7 separate regions of the Homo sapiens genome follow, and all the other regions are linked to region 1. The links are contacts of gene promoters, found by promoter capture Hi-C in blood cells and fetal thymus (Javierre and others, 2016). All regions are on one chromosome and are shown on one strand. The core of a region is centred on a gene start or on the middle of the fragment in contact, and the rest is flanking DNA. Distances in the headings are between cores, read along the strand shown.

What was found. Contacts are between HindIII fragments. The CHiCAGO score rates a contact against its expected background, and 5 or more counts as called.
Region 2: a fragment that was not itself captured here is called in contact with the fragment with the promoter of HDDC2 in region 1 in 4 of 17 cell types (total B cells, non-activated CD4 T cells, total CD4 T cells and 1 more); the score reaches 9.4 in total B cells.
Region 3: a contact is called between a fragment that was not itself captured here and the fragment with the promoter of HDDC2 in region 1, in 2 of 17 cell types (total CD4 T cells and activated CD4 T cells). The highest score is 6.3, in total CD4 T cells.
Region 4: a fragment that was not itself captured here is called in contact with the fragment with the promoter of HDDC2 in region 1 in 4 of 17 cell types (activated CD4 T cells, non-activated CD4 T cells, total CD4 T cells and 1 more); the score reaches 6.2 in activated CD4 T cells.
Region 5: a fragment that was not itself captured here is called in contact with the fragment with the promoter of HDDC2 in region 1 in 10 of 17 cell types (total B cells, naive CD8 T cells, naive B cells and 7 more); the score reaches 13.8 in total B cells.
Region 6: a contact is called between a fragment that was not itself captured here and the fragment with the promoter of HDDC2 in region 1, in 6 of 17 cell types (total B cells, monocytes, naive CD8 T cells and 3 more). The highest score is 9.6, in total B cells.
Region 7: a contact is called between a fragment that was not itself captured here and the fragment with the promoter of HDDC2 in region 1, in 5 of 17 cell types (naive CD4 T cells, erythroblasts, fetal thymus and 2 more). The highest score is 9.2, in naive CD4 T cells.

Annotation. Positions count from the first base shown.
Region 1 is chr6:125,300,590-125,303,289 of GRCh38, forward strand. It overlaps HDDC2 (HD domain containing 2), which reads right to left and starts at 1,378. Exons shown (of 6, transcript NM_016063.3): 1 at 1,260-1,378; 2 at 1-70. The coding sequence starts at 1,343. RefSeq lists a silencer at 1,068-1,407. The HindIII fragment of the contact is 13,888 bases long and covers 1-2,700 here.
Region 2 is chr6:125,923,366-125,926,173 of GRCh38, forward strand. All of the region lies in intron 13 of NCOA7 (nuclear receptor coactivator 7), which reads left to right. Among named protein-coding and RNA genes, the nearest start is that of HINT3, 32 kb to the right of the region's middle. The HindIII fragment of the contact is 5,398 bases long and covers 1-2,808 here.
Region 3 is chr6:126,176,113-126,178,812 of GRCh38, forward strand. It overlaps a transcript of TRMT11 not described here. Among named protein-coding and RNA genes, the nearest start is that of CENPW, 160 kb to the right of the region's middle. The HindIII fragment of the contact is 270 bases long and covers 1,147-1,416 here.
Region 4 is chr6:126,019,091-126,021,965 of GRCh38, forward strand. It overlaps TRMT11 (tRNA methyltransferase 11), which reads left to right. Exons shown (of 13, transcript NM_001031712.3): 12 at 2,070-2,190. Among named protein-coding and RNA genes, the nearest start is that of TRMT11, 34 kb to the left of the region's middle. The HindIII fragment of the contact is 1,572 bases long and covers 560-2,131 here.
Region 5 is chr6:126,002,172-126,004,871 of GRCh38, forward strand. All of the region lies in intron 7 of TRMT11 (tRNA methyltransferase 11), which reads left to right. Among named protein-coding and RNA genes, the nearest start is that of TRMT11, 17 kb to the left of the region's middle. The HindIII fragment of the contact is 590 bases long and covers 998-1,587 here.
Region 6 is chr6:125,902,995-125,905,694 of GRCh38, forward strand. The region is part of intron 10 of NCOA7 (nuclear receptor coactivator 7); the gene reads left to right. Among named protein-coding and RNA genes, the nearest start is that of HINT3, 52 kb to the right of the region's middle. The HindIII fragment of the contact is 8,983 bases long and covers 1-2,700 here.
Region 7 is chr6:125,941,969-125,944,668 of GRCh38, forward strand. No RefSeq gene overlaps it. Among named protein-coding and RNA genes, the nearest start is that of HINT3, 13 kb to the right of the region's middle. The HindIII fragment of the contact is 5,560 bases long and covers 1-2,700 here.

The sequences.
Region 1 (2,700 bases), core at 128-2,627:
GGTACATGTGATCTGAAACGCTCTCCGGCCTCTGGACATTTCTGTATACCCAGCCAGTTCGTGGGACTCTCTGATAAATATGAAGAAGAAAAAGAAGTTTTAAAGAACAAATATTAACTATCTGCTATGCTCTTCAAGAGATGTCCAGGATATAACACACAGAAGCCGGGTCATAATTTCAGAACCTATTACAAAATGTTTTGCTAAACTAGCTAAAATGATAGACATCTGGAATCAAATGAACTAGAGAGCTCAGAGAATGAAAGGGGTAGAAGACAGAGAGAGATAAGTCACAAAGTCCATTCGTCAAATTATTCTGTTACTGATGTATAATTATGGAACATATGCAAGTCCTTTAAACAAAAACAAAACTGCATTTTTCCGAACAAGAGTTGCGGCTTTTTGCCTTCAAATAATCCTACACAAGCAGAAAACACTGTATTGAAGGGTCTGAACGTGAACGAGTGATAGGCTTCCAAATTCTGAGGCACAAGGGATAAGGGCACTTCTAATTGCTTGATGCTACCAGCCGTGACTCTTCCTTTTATTCACATCATAACTTCATCTTGTGAAACTGCATTTCTTCCTCAGAATTCTACATCTCTAAGGAATGTTATAAATAGTAGTCAGAGTGGCATGAAACGGATAATTTACTTTGAACTTGGGAGAGAGACGGGGAAGACGCACATGATGAAACTCGTGTGTATTACATTAAATCCCGTTTGGGGGGTGGCCGGGAGAAAAGTCTTGTTTCTGGAAGTAACTGTGAGACAGACATAAAAAGCTCCACTTAAAATCTGAGGAGCCGACAGATTCTGTTCTTCCCACCCGTGCTCAGAAGCAGCCGCGCTTTACACACACACACACACACACACGAGTTCTGGGGTCGTGAGCACACACACACACACACACACACACGAGTTCTGGGGTCGTGAGCCCCGGAAAAGCTCAGTGCAGGCAGGGCCAGGCCGGCTGCTCTCCGGGAACTGGCGCGGCTGCAGTGCGGACCTCGCGGCGCCAGGCTCTAGGCTCAGACTCCGGGCCGCCCCAGCTGGCCAGCCTGTCCCGCCGGCTGCTTCCTCCGTCCACCGTCGGCAACGCGCGGCCGCATCCGCAGGACTGGGGCCTTTCCGGAATTCGGCGTGGCGGACGCGGCGCAGGAAGGGCAAAGACCGCCGGCCGAGCGGGGAGGCCGGAAGCTCCGCCGCCCCACAGTCCCGCCCGCTCGGCCGCGGCCTCCCGGCCTGGTGCCCGCTCACCTTGAGCTGCCCTACCAGCCGCAGGAACTGCAGTAGGGACCGAGCCCCGTGGCCCGAGAAGGTCGCAGAGGAGACCGAAGCCATGCGGCCACCGACCCCGGCTGGGCGGAGCAGGCCGCGGCGAAGCTCCTCCCCGTCCTCCTCCTCCTCCCCTTCCCCTTGTCTTTCTTCCCCCTCCTCTTACTCTTCTATCTCTTTCTCCTCCCCCTCTTCTTCTTCCTTCTGCCCCTCTTCCTGCTCCCCCTCTTCCTCCTCCCCTTCCAACTCCTCCTCCTCCTCCCCCACTTCCGCTTTCTCCTCTTCCTCTTCCTCCTGCCCCTCTTCCTCTCTCCCCCTCCTCTTCCTCCTCCTCCTGTTCTTATTCCTCCTCCCCCTCCTCCTCCTGTTCTTATTCCTCCTCCCCCTCCTCCATATTCTCACGGTTTTCTCAGGACCTTCTGTCCAGCCTTCGCCTTCTTGGCCTTGGTGTCCGCTGCTTGGGCATTGCTCCGTCAGTGGCAGACACCTTGCTTGGCACATACTTGACACTCAGTACTCTTTATGAAAAATAAAGCTCTCCTTTCTAAATTTATGAACCTCGTTATTCTTCAGTTGACAGTGTAAAACCATGAAACTGGATGAGGTCACCTGGCAAGAGGGTGTGAATGAAGAAGAAAAGACACCCAAGACCTGAACCCCAACATTTAGGCTTTGTGAGATCAAGAGGGAACAGCCAGTGAGGTAGGAAGAGGATTAGTAGGTAGGATAGTTGTGTCCTGGAAGCCATGTACAAAAATATTTCAAGAAGGAAGGAATATGGTCAACCAAGTCAATGTGAGGACCAAGGTTTGACTTCCAGACTTAGTAAATTCAATATTATTGGTTACCCTGACAAAAGCAGTTTTCAGTGTAGTGGGCCAAGCAGAACCTAGTGAGATAATTCCGAAGAGAATAGGAGCAAGTATTACAGCACATTGGAGATGGGGTTGGGGTGCTGTTAACTAGTGGAGAGATTGTTTCAAAACAGGAGATATTATGTATGTTTACTGATGAAGGGGATCTAGTAGAAAGGGAAACATTGATTATGTAAGAGACAAAGAAGAGAAATATTTGAATGTCGGCCTTGAGTAAGGAAAAATATTCCCATCTGGTGTACAAGATAAAAGATGGGCTTTAGATAGGAATATGGAGAATTCATTCAAATATTGGAGGAGGACAGAGTATAGGGTGACTAATCAGTCGCACATGTGGTCATGGGAGGTTGTAGAAGTTCTCTTCTGATTGCTTCTATTTTCTCACCAAATTAGGAAGCAAAGTATAGGCTGGGATGTTATAATAACAAACAACCTCCTTATTTCCTGTATCTCAGCAGTTTAACACATCAAAGGTTTATTTCTCTCTCATGCTAAGTGTCTATTGTAGATCAGCTAGAGGATGCTGCTTGCTCTAACCTTACTCAGGG
Region 2 (2,808 bases), core at 114-2,613, 620 kb after region 1:
TTGATTGTACTTTTGCCTGTGTTACAGTTGGTCTTTCTTGGAGGAACTAGTGAAAACTAGTTATTACCCCTTGTCCCTGCACTGTTATCTCTTCCCGTAAGTCAGCTCAGAATGGGAGTGGAATCTGTCCAGGTTTTTTTCGGTCACTTTCCTGTCAGTCTCTTGCATCATGAAAGGAAGACATCATTCACATCTGCTCATTGCTCATTTCAGTTTGACCTGTGTTCTGTTAGAAATTCCTCTAAGATTTTAAGATGCAGCATTGAGCAGATTTTCTGTCACTGAAGCAGATTTTACTCAACATTTATTCATTCATTCATTCATTTATTCATCCACTCAGCAAATATCTAATTAGAGCCTGTTAGGCGCTAGGCACTGTTAAGCATTGGGGAGCTTACTGTGAAGCACAACATTTTTATACTGAGACATGTCCACGTTGTAATGAGCCATATACATGGGATCATTTTACAGGAAATAGAACTTTGCTGTCATGATTTGCCTTGGGAAAAATTAGGGAACAAATGGGGGTACCAAAGACACTGTCTTTCTTAGCAGTGATCTTTGTGACTTTATCGTAATATTATTGTAGCTTAAGAGTTGTGGGAATTAATTTAGCTGTCATTGTTACTATTGTTATTTCCTGATTGCTGACATTTTGCTTAATAAAGATCCAAGCTGAAAGGTGGGTAGAGTCAAGATAAAAAAATTAAAATAATGATAACAGTTGGTTTAAAAGAGACTTAGGAATTTAGTGAAATGTTCCAGAATTGGATGTTATATTTTGGATGAGGTATGGCTATATTATCTTAGAGCACACATACAGACTCTCACCTAAGTATAGATTATTTGTCCTATTTACTTACCAAAATATCACACTTGTTGAGGAATGTGATGGTTCACACAGAACAGGTATTGATGAAGCACAGTTTTACCAAACTTCCTGTGCGATTTGTAAAGGAGGCCTACAACTGAAGGTTGCAGTCTTGTCACTGGGTGGAGTCTTGCTGAATCATGTACCCTGGAGGCACTTGTGTCATTTGAGGACAACCAGACACTAACTTTGCTTTCTGCACCCCATCTACCCCGAAGGGGAAACTGTGGCTTTGCTGTGTTTGAGAACATGATAGAACAACACCTGCAAATGTGTCTGAAAATGAATTATATGACATTCTAATATAAAAATATTATATATGTAGACTGGCAGCAATGAGGAGCTCTGCAGAATCAGTCCCCAGTGAAAGAACCATAGCTGGTAGAAATAACAAAAACAACAATCACTTAAAGTCTCTGGAAATTATTCTAAGCCAGTGAGGGAATATTTATTCAAGAAAATCTAATTAATCTCAGTTATAACAGTGGGACTCTGTGGCACTTGAGGCACAACTCTCTCCCTTCCCTAACCCCCCGCTGAGACTGACAGTGGTTCCACTCTGGGCATGTATGGCCAAGAAGATGGGGCACTCTCTTCCCACAGCTGCCAGTCAAGGGTTATGGTGTACCCTCTCTCACTGTGGGTCCCCTGTATTTCTTATCTCCCACCCAAGATCAGTGTTTCTGAGGCTAAAATCCAAGCAAGTGTGGCCTAGAGGTAGGGGGCTTTCTTCTTCTACCCACCCTCCACTCACAGAGCCATGCTCTACGGTAGGCATGGCAGGCTGAGAATACAGGGGTCTCTCCTGCTCTCATTTCAGCTCACAGGGCAGAAGTTTTGCACCAGATGAGGCAAGCCAAGACCAGAGGCTGCTGTCACTGTCTAGTCCCTAGCTTCAGAGCAGTGGGTTAGAGATTTTTTTCCCAGGGGAAGAGGCAGGCCACAGGACATAGAGTTCTAAAGCTCTACCCAAAGGAACTGACTTTGTTTAGACACACTTGGGGAAGTTCAAGCCAAAGGGCACTCTAGAAAACAATGAGAATTTTGGTGTTAAGAAGAAGGCTGTAGCCATGAAGGCAACAAATTAAACTGTAGACCATCTACTTTACCAGAGAGATCCAAGAAAAGAGACAGCTATGGAGAGCCTTTCTGGAGACAGGGTAAACTTCATAGTCTGGCCAAAGAAACTATCCATGCAAAGGAACCTACATTTAATTGAATCAGACTGTGGAATAATTTACACCACCAGGCATTGTTGACAACAATAGAACAATCATCAGGCAATTAATAGAGACTAATTACTAACTTCCAGTGAAGTATAGAAATGTTACTCCTATTTTGCTCTATTACATCTTTTAACTTTTTGTGGTACTAATGTTATAAATGTTATATCTGTATATATTACAAATATAGCAATAGATTGTTATGATTACTATGTTACATAATTTTATGTCTGCTAAGGAAGTTGAGAGAAGAAGAGCAAATGTACATTTATATGTTTTGTTATATGACTTTCCTTTTATCATTTCTGGGTTGCTCTTCATCTATTCCCTTGGATTCCTTTGTTCTGCTATTGCTAAATGTATTACATTTTTATATGGTATAGGCTGAACAACACTATTATATAAAAGTTGTTTTATACAATTTTTTTAAATACATTAATAGAAAAAAAGACATTTTCTCATAATCACAATGCAATAGATCTAACAAAATTAACAGTAATTCCCCAATATCATCCAGCCCTTAGTCTTTAAATGCATTTCCAGAATTGCTAAGAAAATTTTAGCTAAAAGGCCAGGTGTGGTGGCTCACACCTGTAATCCCAGCACTTTGGTAGGCCGAGGCAGGTGGATCACCTGAGGCCAGGAGTTCCAGACCAGCCTGACCAACGTGGTGAAACCCCGTCTCTACTAAAAGTACAAAAATTAGCCAGACAT
Region 3 (2,700 bases), core at 32-2,531, 880 kb after region 1:
CTTTGCTCTAGTGAAAAAGAAATTGGTACAAGACTTTAAGGAAGTCAAAATGATGAAGTTTGGATTAAGCTCTTAGCAGGAAAGGCAAAGGCCACAGTGAAAGCAATCCTGAGCTGGCCAGCCCTGTAAACAACTGCTAGCCCCTGGTTAAGTGTCTTTTTCTTTTGACATAGAGAAGTTAAAATATAGTGCAATTTAATATAGTCAGCACACTTCACCCTAAAATCCAATCAATTTATTAAAGAAAAAAAGGTCCATTCAACCCAGCCATTATACATGACTCTATAGTTCTTGGAAATAACTATAGTCAGCTCTGGAAACAGAAAACTAATCCAACTGACCACTTGAGGGAGGTGGTGGGTTATCTTGTCTAGAAAAAGGACCTCAGTTCCTTCTTTGTAGTGTGCAATTTTAAGAACTTTGAATACCTCCTGTGACCTATGGGTAAAATGAGATCACAGGAACCCAGACAATGGCCTTTTCTCCACTTGGATCTATAATCTAATTTTCCTATAAAGTAAGGGGAATAAAATAGATTTACAGAACACTTGTGATGGTCTAGCTGATGGATCACTTTAAAAAGAGAGAAAGAGGCAAAGTATGGGTAGTTTATTTTCACAAATCAGTTTTAGTTTTTTTCTATGAAATTAATGAACAAGAAGCCCATTAAAATGATTGTTACAATTCTTCTTTTTAATTGTTTACTCTATTAAGGTGACAATACTTGACAGCTTGATATATGAACAGTGTTCACTTGCCCAACATAAACATCAATTATAACATGAAAATGCGATGGTCCTTCAACCCTTCATTCACTCATCCAGGTTAAATGCAGAATTTGGAAAGAAACCAAAATTAAAGTTAATTTTACCTAGACTTCAACAGATGTTTTTTAACAAGAAAAAAAAAAACAAAGAAATTGTGGCTGAAGAAAAGTTAGCTGAGATGAAGAGTAAAATGGGTCATGTAGGAACAAAGTCATTGTATTTCATCAGAGTCAAGAAAATTATTAATTATTGAAATGGGAAATCAAATCATTAAAGTATGAATACCATTGGCTCTCTGATTTCTTCTTTCCCAGGTATCATAAAATATGCTTGAACTTGGGTTAATTCCTCTTGGACTGAATTGTAGTGCCATAAACCAAGCTTTTCAAAAAGATTGGATGCAAAACTATTATGGCAACAGGAATTTTTATCAACATAAAGCAGGATTTAATGCAGGTATATAGTATATAGAGTCAAAAAGGATTATAAGATTTATAATGAAAAACAGCAGTACTCTACTTCTCCATTTGCTATCCCCAACTCTCGATGTGCAGATACCAATTTCAACTTGTTTAGCTATTTCTTCTGGCATCTAATTCCAAATGGCTAAATAACATGTTTATACTAATTTCTTATATATGTGCAATAAAGCTTTAGGTATTTTCTATTGCTTCCTCTTATTGGAGAAAAGAATCCAGCCCTATCAACTCTCCCCACACCACTTAATATATACTTCCCATTTCCTCAGCCTCTAAATGCTGGTAAATTACCATTTTTGGTTTAACCTCTATTCTGTGTTTGCTTTATTATGACTACATAAATACTATACACAGCTGAGCTCAGAAGGGTGCTCTGACCTTTTTTTTCAACTCTTTGCTTTCCTAAATGAAAAATTGCACGATTTTTTCATTAGCTGATTTTTATATTTCTACTACTGATTCATCCCCCAAATCCAAGGTATACAGCCTCTCTCAATGCAAATATAATAAGTGATCCATCAGTTTCATTTTTTTCAAAGTATCCATCCCCTTTCCCTTAAGCCCTCTGGCTGCCTCCTCCCACAACTGGTTGTTCCCTGTGCCTACTGCAAGCTCTGGTCCAGGGTCTTCCCCTTACTATCAAACTGGGGATTCTCTTTAACCCTTTCCATTGTTATATTTTAAAATTTCAAGAGCGATCTTATGTTTTCAGAATACTCTATGTTAAAAAATACATAACATTATTTTCTTATTTCATCAGATGGAATAGTGCTTTTATTTAGCTTTCTAAATTTATTTATTATAGTTTCTTTAAAGTTTTTATGGTAGGCACTGGATGCAACACTCAGATCACCCTTCAAGGAAAGAGTTGTTGCCCAAGATCACCTTCCCTTTTTGAGGTAGCCACACCCAAAGACTGTTCCATGTGAGCTATGAGTGCTTGGCCATCTTGGCCCAATGTGGGAGAGTTCTGAAGGGCTGTTCTAGCCCCAGACACTGAGGCTGAGGCTGTCATGGGACTGGCCTTGCAGCTTGCCTTCTTTGTTAGCCCACCCCTGCTTTTGTCCCCTCCAAAGTGACTCCCTAATAAATATCTTGCATGCTCAAGCCCATTTCAGAGTCTACCTCCCAGGGAAACATAGCTGTGACTATATTCTTCTTCATACAATATATCTGTCTCTTCTAAGTTACTTTTATTCTGTTTATGCATTGTAGACTCTGACTTCTATGCTAGATACTTTCTGTTCTGCCTTATGTGAAAGACAAGTTGATTGAAATCCTAAGTATGTATAGCGCATGTTTCCTTAGGGTCACCATGTAGAAAAACTGAGAAAACCAGCTGTTTATTTGGTGTCTAGGTCTTTTTTCTTGACCCCAGACAGTTTCATCTTTTCTCCTGCTTGGGGAGCATAAACCTGGCTAGCAGCTTTCTGGGATCTAGTCAGGGAAGCGGT
Region 4 (2,875 bases), core at 96-2,595, 720 kb after region 1:
GCTGGTCTTGAACTCCTGACCTCAGGTGATCCACCTGCCTTGGCCTCCCAAAGCACTAGGATTACAGGCGTGAGCCACCACGCCCAGCTGAAGAATTTTTTAACTGCTATTTTTTAATCTTTTTAGTATGGTGCTTTGGGAGTGTATTGTTAAATTAATTGGCTCATTAATATAATAGATTAATTGTTAAAAATGAATTAAGATCGAGTCAAAAAAGATAATATGAAACATGCAAATATGTTTTTCTGCTGTTAAAACCAAATGCAGCAACTTAGTTTAGCAGTTTAGCGTCATTCATGTCATAGATGTTAATTAAAATTGTGTTGGTACCTTGGATTTGATTGATAAATTTGCTTTTTGGGTTTTATAGTTATATTAGGGATCTAAACATGAAGAGTTTATATCTAATTTATGCTTGTGCATATTTAAGTGACACCTTAATAAAAAAATACTTTAAGTCAGTCCACCAGGAAGTAAAAAATTTTTTTCCTTTAAAAATTAGTATATTACTTAGTTTGACACAAACTGTTTCCAGCATCTATAGATCCTACGGTTTGCAAGCTTAAGGTTAAGGCTATATCTTCTCTCTGTTAGCACTTTTTATTTTAGTCTCAACCATGGTGTAGAATATATTCTTTCTACTGTACTCCAGCCTCGGCAACAGAGCAAGATCCGTTCTCTGAAAAAGTAAAAAAAGAATTTATTCTTTCATGTCATAAATGCATTGCATGAAGATTCAAAATTTGATGTCATTGTTATAAGAAGTACAACATTTCTGGCTATGTAGTGAACATTAAAGAATTACTAGATGAGGTGAAATCTGAAGTGCTCATTACTTGTTAGAAAGCTCTAGGAAGAAGTCAGAGAATGACTTCAAGATAATTCTTTCCACTGATAATAAAGTGAAGTGCATTATGAATGATGCTTGGGAAGTGGGTGATGATGGGTTTGAGCATATGGTTGAGGTAATAGGGAGAGCTCGTTGAAGGTCAGTGGGACCTAGAAAAGTTCATGAAAGAGTGGTGGTGAAAACAGTGTTGATGCATTAAAACAGGTAGCTGAGATTGTGGTCCTTTACATGAAAAACTAATCAGCACCTTTGCTATTTTGGAGCAGACCTTTAAGATTACCTGTATAATAAATGTGTGCAGACACCATCCAAAAAGGTGTAAAAAATTGCAAAGGAAAAATAAATACTGGCCAACACAGTGTTCTTAAAAGTACCCATGCCTAGTGAGTCCCCTCCCTTGCTGTTCTTTCACATTCTGTTCCATAGCTGTTTCTCCCACCTCTGTTACCTATTTCTTTGGCCAAGATTGATGCTAACAACCTGTCAGATGCCAGATTCTGAACTCCTGCTATTGACTCCTGCTTTCTAGACATTGTCATCATCTTCATCCATGTAGGACATGTGCTGTACAGTAGCAGTCTCCACCACTCATTGGCATATTTTCATTTTGTTTCCTGGTTCATATGACCAGAAGACTGATGTAATCTGTAGTGTTTATTTTAGTTGTAGTTTATTTGAATAATTTTACAAATAACTTTAGTTCTGTATTTACAAACGTAATAGAGATGTTTTTAAATTAGACGTTTAAATTTTAACAAGACGTTATTAAAATTTTACGGGCACTTCATTTTAGAGGGGAAAGTATATGCTGTAGTGGATTATACACTTCGGGAATTTATAAAAATCTACAGATGAATCAGTCCTTCATGAATGTCAAGGGATGTTGTTGAGTGTATTTTTGTCTACTCTTGTGGAATTCTGTAGGGTGGAATCATCTTGTACTTTTGTGGTTTAAATGTTTGGCATTCTTCAACAAAATGTACTTACAATATTTCTCTCTCTCTTATTCTACAGGTAAAAAATTTAACTGCATTTTTGGGATATGATAAAATTAAGCTACTTTGCTTATAGATAGTTTATGGATCATGTGGACAGTTAGCATATGTGGGGAAAAAGAGCATGTAGTGGAAGAACATCCCACACTACACTGGACGATCCCCATGATTCTTTGTGGCCCACACATGTGAGTGTTCCTAACAGTCAGCTGTTCTTTCTTCAGATACACTGAAGAGATGGTGCCTTGGCACCCTTGCCTGGAACTCGTTAGCAACTGCGAGCAGAAGCTTTCCAGTCACACATCAAGGCGCTTGATCACAATGGAAAAGGTGAAGAAATTTGAGGTAAATTGCTTCAGTATTTTTGGGATAAATTCTGAAAGAATCAAAAGTAGTTGTTTCTAAATAGTTTTCCTGTGATAGAGTTTGGAAATGTTATTCCTTGATATTTTAAAAATTACAGATCAATTTAGGAAGAGGCAGAAGTTGAAGAGATTTGTGGCATCCAGTTGGGATTGAAGGGTAGGAGTTGGATATAGACATAGACATTGAGTAGAGTTCAAATAGACGTTGACCCTCACTTCTCAGGCTTTATTTGATATCCTTGTTGCTAACTCAGTTATAAAACAGCATTATTAAACAACTGCTATCTAATTAGCAATGTCCTAGTTACCATTTTTCTCCAAAAGCAGAACCTACTTGATTGCAGACTGTAATGAAGAGAATATGTTGCTTTATAAATAAAGAGAGAAAGTAAATGTCCCCAGTTTGTTAGGGCCCAACACATTCTCTCTTTGTCTCTCTCTTACATACAAAATTCTTACTCTCTTACATTCATTACATTCTTATAAAATTCATACTCTCTTACATACAAAATTCATTTAAGCTTAAGAAAGAATGAAACGTTTGTTATTTCATGCCCAGACGAGAGTTGACATGAATAGTGCCTCATAATGGAGCTTAATTAAATCTACAAAAGCTCTTTGGGCTGTACTTCTGTCGATTGACAACCAAAGCTCTCTTAAATTCA
Region 5 (2,700 bases), core at 43-2,542, 700 kb after region 1:
CTAGAAAATATATATGCATATATACACAATATGCATGTAAGTGCATGTGCAAATATACATGTATTTATTCTTATATACTGTGCGTATGCACATACACATGCATATACGTATTTTAGACACTGTGAATTTGCACATATACTATAAATTGCAGTCAATCCTTACAGATTTCCTTTTGACTACCCTATTCTATGTTTATGTGTACCTTCTTCCACAGTGAGAACCCTGATTCCTAGCTACATCAACACATTTACTCTTTTCCTCATTCCTATATCTGAAATGGTTTCACAGTTGTTTTGCTTATGCCACTTAAAAATATCCTGTGAATAAGAGTTCAGGATGTGTTTTCAGTTCTTCACCCTAAGGGGCAGTAAAGTCAAATACTGTGCCTGCTTTTTCCCTTTTCATTTAAAATTCATTTGGGTTCATTTGTTCCAGTTTGCCCTCTGTTTTAGGTTTTTATCTCCTATCCCCCACTCCTTATTGATTTACTTTTATTTTCAAATATGTATAAGATGAACTTGCTTCCAAAAGTCAGAACTACACAAGAAGTGGTACTCAAAGAGATGTCACTTTACCTTTATAACGCTTCCAGCCTGTTCTCCCACCTATCCTAGGTGACTAACTTCATTGTTTTCTAGTTGATTCTTCCTGTTTCTTTTTGTAATGATAATACATTTTCTGATTCATAATGGAATATATACATTTTCTTATTTTCGCTACTTTCTTACACAAAAGGTATCATACTGTGTGTGTTGGTTTTAACTTTGCTTTTTTCACTTAATGGTATTTCCTGGAAATCACTTCCTGTCAGTTCATGGAGCTTATCTTTATTCTGTTTTAGTTTTGCTTCATGAGTGTATGTACCGTAATTTATTCAAACAATCTCCTATAGTTGGACATCGGTAGTTTTCAGTATTTTACAGTTACAAATAATGCTTGAAATGACTAACCTTATGAATATATACCTTTGTAATGTTGGAGATGTAGCTCTAGGGCAAGCTTATCCAACCCGCAGCCCATGGACCACATGTGGCCCAGATGGCTTTGAATGTGGCCTGATACAAACTTGTAAAGTTTCTTAAAACGTTATGAGAATTTTTGCAATTTTTTTTAGCTCACCAGCTATCATTAGTGTTAGTGTATTTTATGTACAGCCCAAGACAATTCTTCTTCGAATGTGGCCCAGGAAAGCCAAAAGATTGGACCCCTCTGTCCTAGGGTAAATTCTTACAAGTAGGATTTCTGGGTTGAAGAGTGTATGCATATGCAGTTTCATTAGATACTGCCAAATTTGTCTCCATTATACTATTTTGGATTCCTACCAACAGTTGTAGGAGAGTCCCTGTTTTTCCACAGTCTCACCAGCAGAGTATATTTCAGGCTTTTGAAGTTTTGCTTGTTCTGTTGGGTGAAAAATGATATCTCAATGTAGTGTTAATTTGTATGTCTATGGTTACGAATGAAGTATCACAATTTTTTATATTTTAAGGGCCATTATGACTTTCTTTGATTTGTCTTTTTTTGTCTTTTGCCCATTTTTTGATAGCATTTTTGGTCTCTTTCCCTGATTTTTCAAGGTCCTTTGTAAGCTTGAGATACAACCTCCTCACACTCCCCTTATTTTTCTGTGATGTATGCTGCAGTATTTTCCCTTAGCTTGTCATTTATCTTTTGACTTTGCTACTAATTGATTTTTGCCATGCAAAAGTTTTCCCCACACTCAAGTTATAGAGGAATTCATTTGTGTTTTCTTCTAGTGCTTTTGTAGTTTTACATTTTTTCTTTTTAGATCTCTGGTTCATTTGGAGATTATTCTCCAGTATGATGTGAAGAATGGATTTAATTTACCTTTTTCCAAATGCTAAAGCTTTTATTCTTAATCTTGTTCTTGGACTTTAAAAACTTTTTTTGTCAATTGAGAATAATTCTTTTAGATATATACATGTAGAAAATGATTAATATATATACATACACATAGACTAGACCACAGAGTTAAAAAATATGGTTGCCAGTATGGGTAATATTTTTTTGTTGAGTAGATGAGGCTAGATTTTGAAATTATCTTCACAGCTGTCAATATATGGACCATTTATAGTGTGTTGAGGGGCAAGGAGACCTGCTTCTGTTTGCTTTAGGGCAGCTCCTCACAGTGGGTAGTATATTTGGAACGTCTGACTGTTCATATAGTACAATTAATAGAAAATGAGAGGAGGATCTTTGCAAAGGTGCTGCTGAAATATATTTTCGTAATTTGTGTTTGTAGTTTAAGTATAGCTTTAGGACATCAGTCAATTTTTGGTGCTTTTGTTTTGAAACATAATAACCAATAATTGTGAATAGACACAGGTCTTAAGCACAGTTTGTCCTCTCTTGGGCCTTTTGCCTCATCGATGGGTGGTACCTTCTGAAGGACTGGAGAAATACGTAGCTCTGTGTCCTTCTCCATGGCCATAGTTTTCACAAAACATTTGTTGATATTTTTCTTTTGGTTGCCTTTTAAATAGTTTTTTAAAAAAAATTCATGTGTCTAATCCCCTTTTTATTTTAAAGGTACAAAATTGAAATGTATGTAGTTTCCCAAATGTATTGCTCACTTACTACTCATGGTTCGTGATTTTTCTCAGGGATATAGAGTAGGGTAGAAAGCTTCTGGGAGACTGAAAGGAGAAAAATAATCTTTTCATGCCTAAATACTTTTCC
Region 6 (2,700 bases), core at 176-2,675, 600 kb after region 1:
TGTGCTTTGTTGCCTGAGTTAGGTGCTGCCTTCCAAGAAACTATCATTTACCTTCTTTGAATTTCTTCTTTAGAGATGACAACTCTATCTGCTAAACAGGGATTTGTAATTTGAATATGGTGTCTCCTTTGGGATAAATCCCTAAAGGAGCCTTGTATTGAAGATAAAGACCTTTGAGGTGTATGAAGAAATCTGATTAAGGCCAAATTTGTAATTAAACAGAAAACCTAAACAAAGGTGAGGGCCAGATTTTAGATGGGTTGATTTTGTGCCTGGCAGAGCATGTATGGCAGGTTTCTTCCCATGCCCTCTGCCACACCTGGGGTCTGGCCTTGACCATCTCCTGCCTGGATCACCATTGCAGCCATAGCAACAAGGCCTTTATTTCTAGTTGATCCTGTCTCTTCCTGGCCTTCCCTACTTGGCTCCACAGCAGTCCTTCTCAAGCACAGATTTGTCCATGTCTCTTCCTGCTAAAGCTATGAACGCATGGCCTCCCTGTGCCTGTGGTTTCCTATGGCAGCTTCAGCTATTCACATACATTCCCTCCCTCACAAATATCCCTAGATCTGCCTACCATCTATACTACTGTTTACTTAATGGTTGTCTTTAAAGGATTTAAATAGTAATTTTTTTTACTTAGTCTTTTCCTAAATAGCAATATCTGTGAAATCAGAAAAATAATATGCTAGTAGTACTTATTTTTACTACCTTCTTTTTTTTTTTTTTGAGATAGAATCTTGCTCTGTCACCCAGGCTGGAGTGTAGTGGCATGATCTCAGCTCACTGCAACCTCCACCTCCTGGGTTCAAGCAATTCTTCTGCCTCAGCCTCCCAAGTAGCTGGGATTACAGGTGTGTGCCATCATGCCCAACTAATTTTTTTCTAATTTTAGTAGATACAGGGTTTCACCATATTGGACAGGCTGGTCTCGAACTCTTGACCTCATGAACTGCCCACCTCAGCCTCCCAAAGTGCTGGGATTACAGGCATGAGCCACTACCCTTTAAGTACATATGTAAGTATTAAAATATGTTCTTCTGCATACCCTCTGAAGTCACTGGGACTGCCCCACCACACTTCAGGAAACAGTGGCCACAGGCTGAGTTCCAAGTATTTTATCTTATGCTTGGGACTTTCTGTGACCTAGTGACCCACCTGCTCTGTCTTCTTTCTTCTTATCTCCTACCTTTCCATTAAGCAAATGGTAAGTCTTGTTCTTTTATTCCTCCTCTCAGGAATTCCTTCCCTGCCTCTTGAGTTCCTATTCAACACCAACATCCCAGCTCCGATGCCCCTCAGCTGTTGTGTTGGCACTGTGCTAACATTTTTTTGTTTACTCTCCACCACCTGAGCACCTTGAGGCAGGGCCTGGGTATCCTGCATCTCTGTCCTTTTTACAGAATTCTTTGTCAGAAATCACCAGTGATCTGATGGCATTGTCCTCCTTTTGCTCTGCCATGTCCACTTTGACCTCACTGCAGCATCCCCCTGGTCTTCCAATGCCATGTCTTTGCATGGGTTCCCTCCAGTAGAATGCTGTTTCTCCTTCCTACTGTAATGGACTCTTCTGCCTCCCTCAACACCCAGTTTAACCATGGCCCCTGGGAAGCCTTCCCCTACCCCAGCCTTAGACACTTCACTGGGCTTACCTTTGCCATGATTCTTAATTTAAAAAGAAAGCAATAGTGTGAGCACAGAGCCAGAATGGACACTGGCTGCATTTTGGAGACTGGTGCAAAACAAAGCTCCCAGGCAGCCCCAAAGAGGTCACATTTATCCCAAAACCTATGAGGAGACATTGGGAAAACATTACAGGCAGTTAGGTGAAATGCTCAGGTTTGCATTTTATGAGCTCGATTTTGCCTGTCTGCTGTTTCTTCTTGGCCTTGTGCTAGGACGGCTCTGCTTTCTCCTTAAATATTAGTGGTTTCTTGGGACCCAGTACTTGACCCAGTTCTCTGTTCATGGGTGTTACCACACACCCACTGCTTCAGCAGCAGGTAGCAGCCAGGGTGAGTAATTACTAGTAATTCTGTTCACTCATCCATCAGCCCTGCTTAGTGTCCTGAGGTAGTGGAAGCCCAGAGAAGCTCAGTGGTTCATCCAGACCACAGCGTGAGTCACAGAGAGTTTCCAAAAAGCCATTGACAGACCTGCCAAGGTTAAAACGGGTGATGACTGAGATACTGCTGATGTTTACAGTGGATGATCTTTGAGAAGATCAGCTTCACTAGAGTGGTGAGGGAAGGAATAAGATTTTTTTTTTTTTTTTTTTTGAGACAGAGTTTCACTCTTGTCGCCCAGGCTGGAGTGCAGCGGTGCGATCTCGGCTCATTGCAACCTATGCCTCCGGGGTTCAAGTGATTCTTCTGCCTCAGCCTCCCAAGTAGCTGGGATTACAGACCCCTGTAATGCCACCATGCCCAGCTAATTTTTGTATTTTTAGAAGAGATGGGGTTTCACCATGTTGGCCAGGCTGGTCTAGAACTCCTGACCTCAAATGATCTGCCTGCTTCGGCCTCCCGAAGTGCTGGGATTACAGGCGTGAGCCACCGCACCCAGTCAGGAATAAGATTTTAAAACCTGCCACCTTCCAGAAAATACCGGAGCCAGGTTCGATTTAACAAAGGGCATATACAGAAAGGTGAACAAAATCAGAATAGAAGAGTTCAGGAATGAAAAGAAATTGGGAAATCT
Region 7 (2,700 bases), core at 120-2,619, 640 kb after region 1:
CTTGGCTCACTGCAACCTCTGCATCCCAGGCTCAAGTGATCCTCCCACTTCTCAGCCTCCTGAGACCTAGCTGGGACCACAGGCACGCACCACCACGCCTGGCTAATTGTTTGTGTTTTTTGGTAGAGACAGGGTTTCACCATGTTGCCCAGGCTGGTCTTGAACTCCTGAGCTCAGGCAATCCACCAGCCTCAGCCTTTCAAAGTGCTAGGATTACAGGCATGAGCCACTGTGCCCAAACTGCCTGGTTTTTAAAGTCTGTCTTCTTGGAAGAGGTCACCTAATGTCCTTGCCATTCCTGCCTTAAAAATAATAGACATTCATCAGTCTGTTAATCTTATATACTTCTGGTGAGGAAGACAAACGGTTAACATAATGGTGTCAGAGAGTCTCAGGCCCTACCAGGGTATTTTCTCAAAAGTCTCCCTTAAACAGGCAATATATAGAGAGAGGAATGAAAAAAGAAGATTTTTGTCAGTTTGTGTTTTACTTTGCATATCTGGACATATATTTGCGCTTATTAATTTGGTTATACGACTTTTTTAAGGAAGTAGCATCCAGAAGTTCAGTTGTCATAAGAGTAAGCATTTACTGAACACTTATGTGCTAGGTACTATTCTAAGCACTCTACGTATATTACTCCAGTCTTCATAATAACTTGTGATAGTCATGAATAGGTACTACTATTATTTTCCAGCTAAGGAAAATGGAAGCCATAAAAAATTAAATGATTTATTTGAAGTGGAATCACTACTAAGTGGTAGAAATGGGCTTCAAATGAAGGGAGTCTGGATCCCCCAGTCTATGCCTTAAACCACCAGGATAACTACAGGAAATAGCAAGTTAGTGGGGAGTACAGCAGAAAGCAGGAGGCTGTGGTGAGACGGAATTCAGGGAATTGGTGGGCCGCTAGAGTAGGCTGGTTAGAGAAGGAAGTAAAGATGGGAGGGTGGCTGGAAGAGTTAAAGAGAGAAAGATCAAGAACAGAAATTGCTACCATGTCAGGAGAGTATAAAAGTTGCTAGGACATGTGCTGACAGAGCTGTGAACAGTCATTGTTCAGGTTTCCAGATAATCTCAGTGATTATAAAGTTTGGATTTGCCACAGGGGTGAGTTGTGTTAAAGAGGAATAGAGGCAAAGGGCATTGAAATCCAGGAGTTTGAGAAGCGGTGAGTCATGGACAGTGAAGTTGTCTAAGATAACGGCAGGAGCTTGGCAGTGTTTGTTAGCCAGGTGCTGAAGTTCTCTGTGAATCTAGGAGTGATCTAGAAGCAGGTAGATGAAGGTGATTATGTTCCATGCTATAGCACGAGACTCCAAAGAGGGCAGAGGGCTGGGCACTGTGGCTCATGCCTGTAATCCCAGTACTTTGGGAAGCCGAGGTGGGTGGATCACCTGAGGTCAGGAGTTCAAGACAACCCTGGCCCACCTGATGAAACTCTGTCTCTACCAAAAATACAAAATTAGCCAGGCTTGATGGCGCACGCTTGTAATACCGGCTACTTGGGAGGATGAGGCAGAAGAATTGCTTGAACCGAAGAGGTGGAGGTTGCAGTGAGCTGAGATCGCACCATTGCACTTGGGTAGGAATGGAATCACCTGGAGCTGGCATTTAGAAGCTAGGAGAATGCCAGCCCTGCTTCCAAATCTCTCAGTGTGTTGGGAAGAGAGAATAAGCAGTTTTTGCTTGTCAAAGCTCAAGGGAAATAATATTCTTGCAGGAAATCCAAGTTTCAGTTAAGGAAAGAAGGTGAAGATTTCGCTCTGCTAAGAGGTTGAGGATATAGGTTTGAGTAAGTACAAAGAAATTGTGTTTCTTACAGTGGAAAGAGCTTCAAAGGAGGTTAGCAGTGAAAAAAGTTTGGGGAAAAGAAGCATGGGAAAGTTTGGGTATGAGTAAAGAGAAATTTTTACCTCGAGGGTAACTAATAAGAACAAGAGTTAGTGGTGTGGATAAGATACATTGGCCTTGAGATGATGAGGAAATATAGGTGTGAGCTTGACAAGAAAATTGACATTAACTTCAGGATGTCAGAGTTATGCTGATTTACATGGTAGCTGTTTCGTACTGCTTTGGAGGAGATAAGAAATGCCTCACTGTGCTACTAAAAGGCCTGCAAGACAGACCCATCTATCATCCACCAAGTAAATTCATCTTCCTGTGTCCTATTTTCTCCATTTCTAAAATAGGGATAATAATATCCTTTTCTCTCAGTTGACATGAAAATCAATTTGTGCATATGAAAGTGTCTTAGAAAATTGTAAAATGCCAGATGAAAGTAAGTTAGAAATATGATGGTGTTAGTCACACCCAACTTTGTTTATGCTGAATTCTTTATCAAAAATACAAAGTCCAGGTGTAGCCTTGTTCCTGATTTAAAAAAAAAAGAAGAGATTATTTTCAATGCTTTGTTTAAGGACATGGTTTTTAAGAAAGATTATAAAAAACAGAAATGTCTGCATTACATCCTGTAGACGAGTAAACAAAGCAATTTATCAAGGAAATAGCAGGGATGGGGAAGTTTTGCTTTTGTCATTCTTTCCATTAGAAATAATTTACACTGTTTCCACTTAACAACAGATCAGGACTTCCCTTAATGTCCTTTAGCAAAGCTCAAAGAGCTACAGTTGGGACTTTGGGCCACCGGCCAGTATTTGTTCAAAGAGAGCTGTACGGTAGTTCAGTAATCAGAAACTG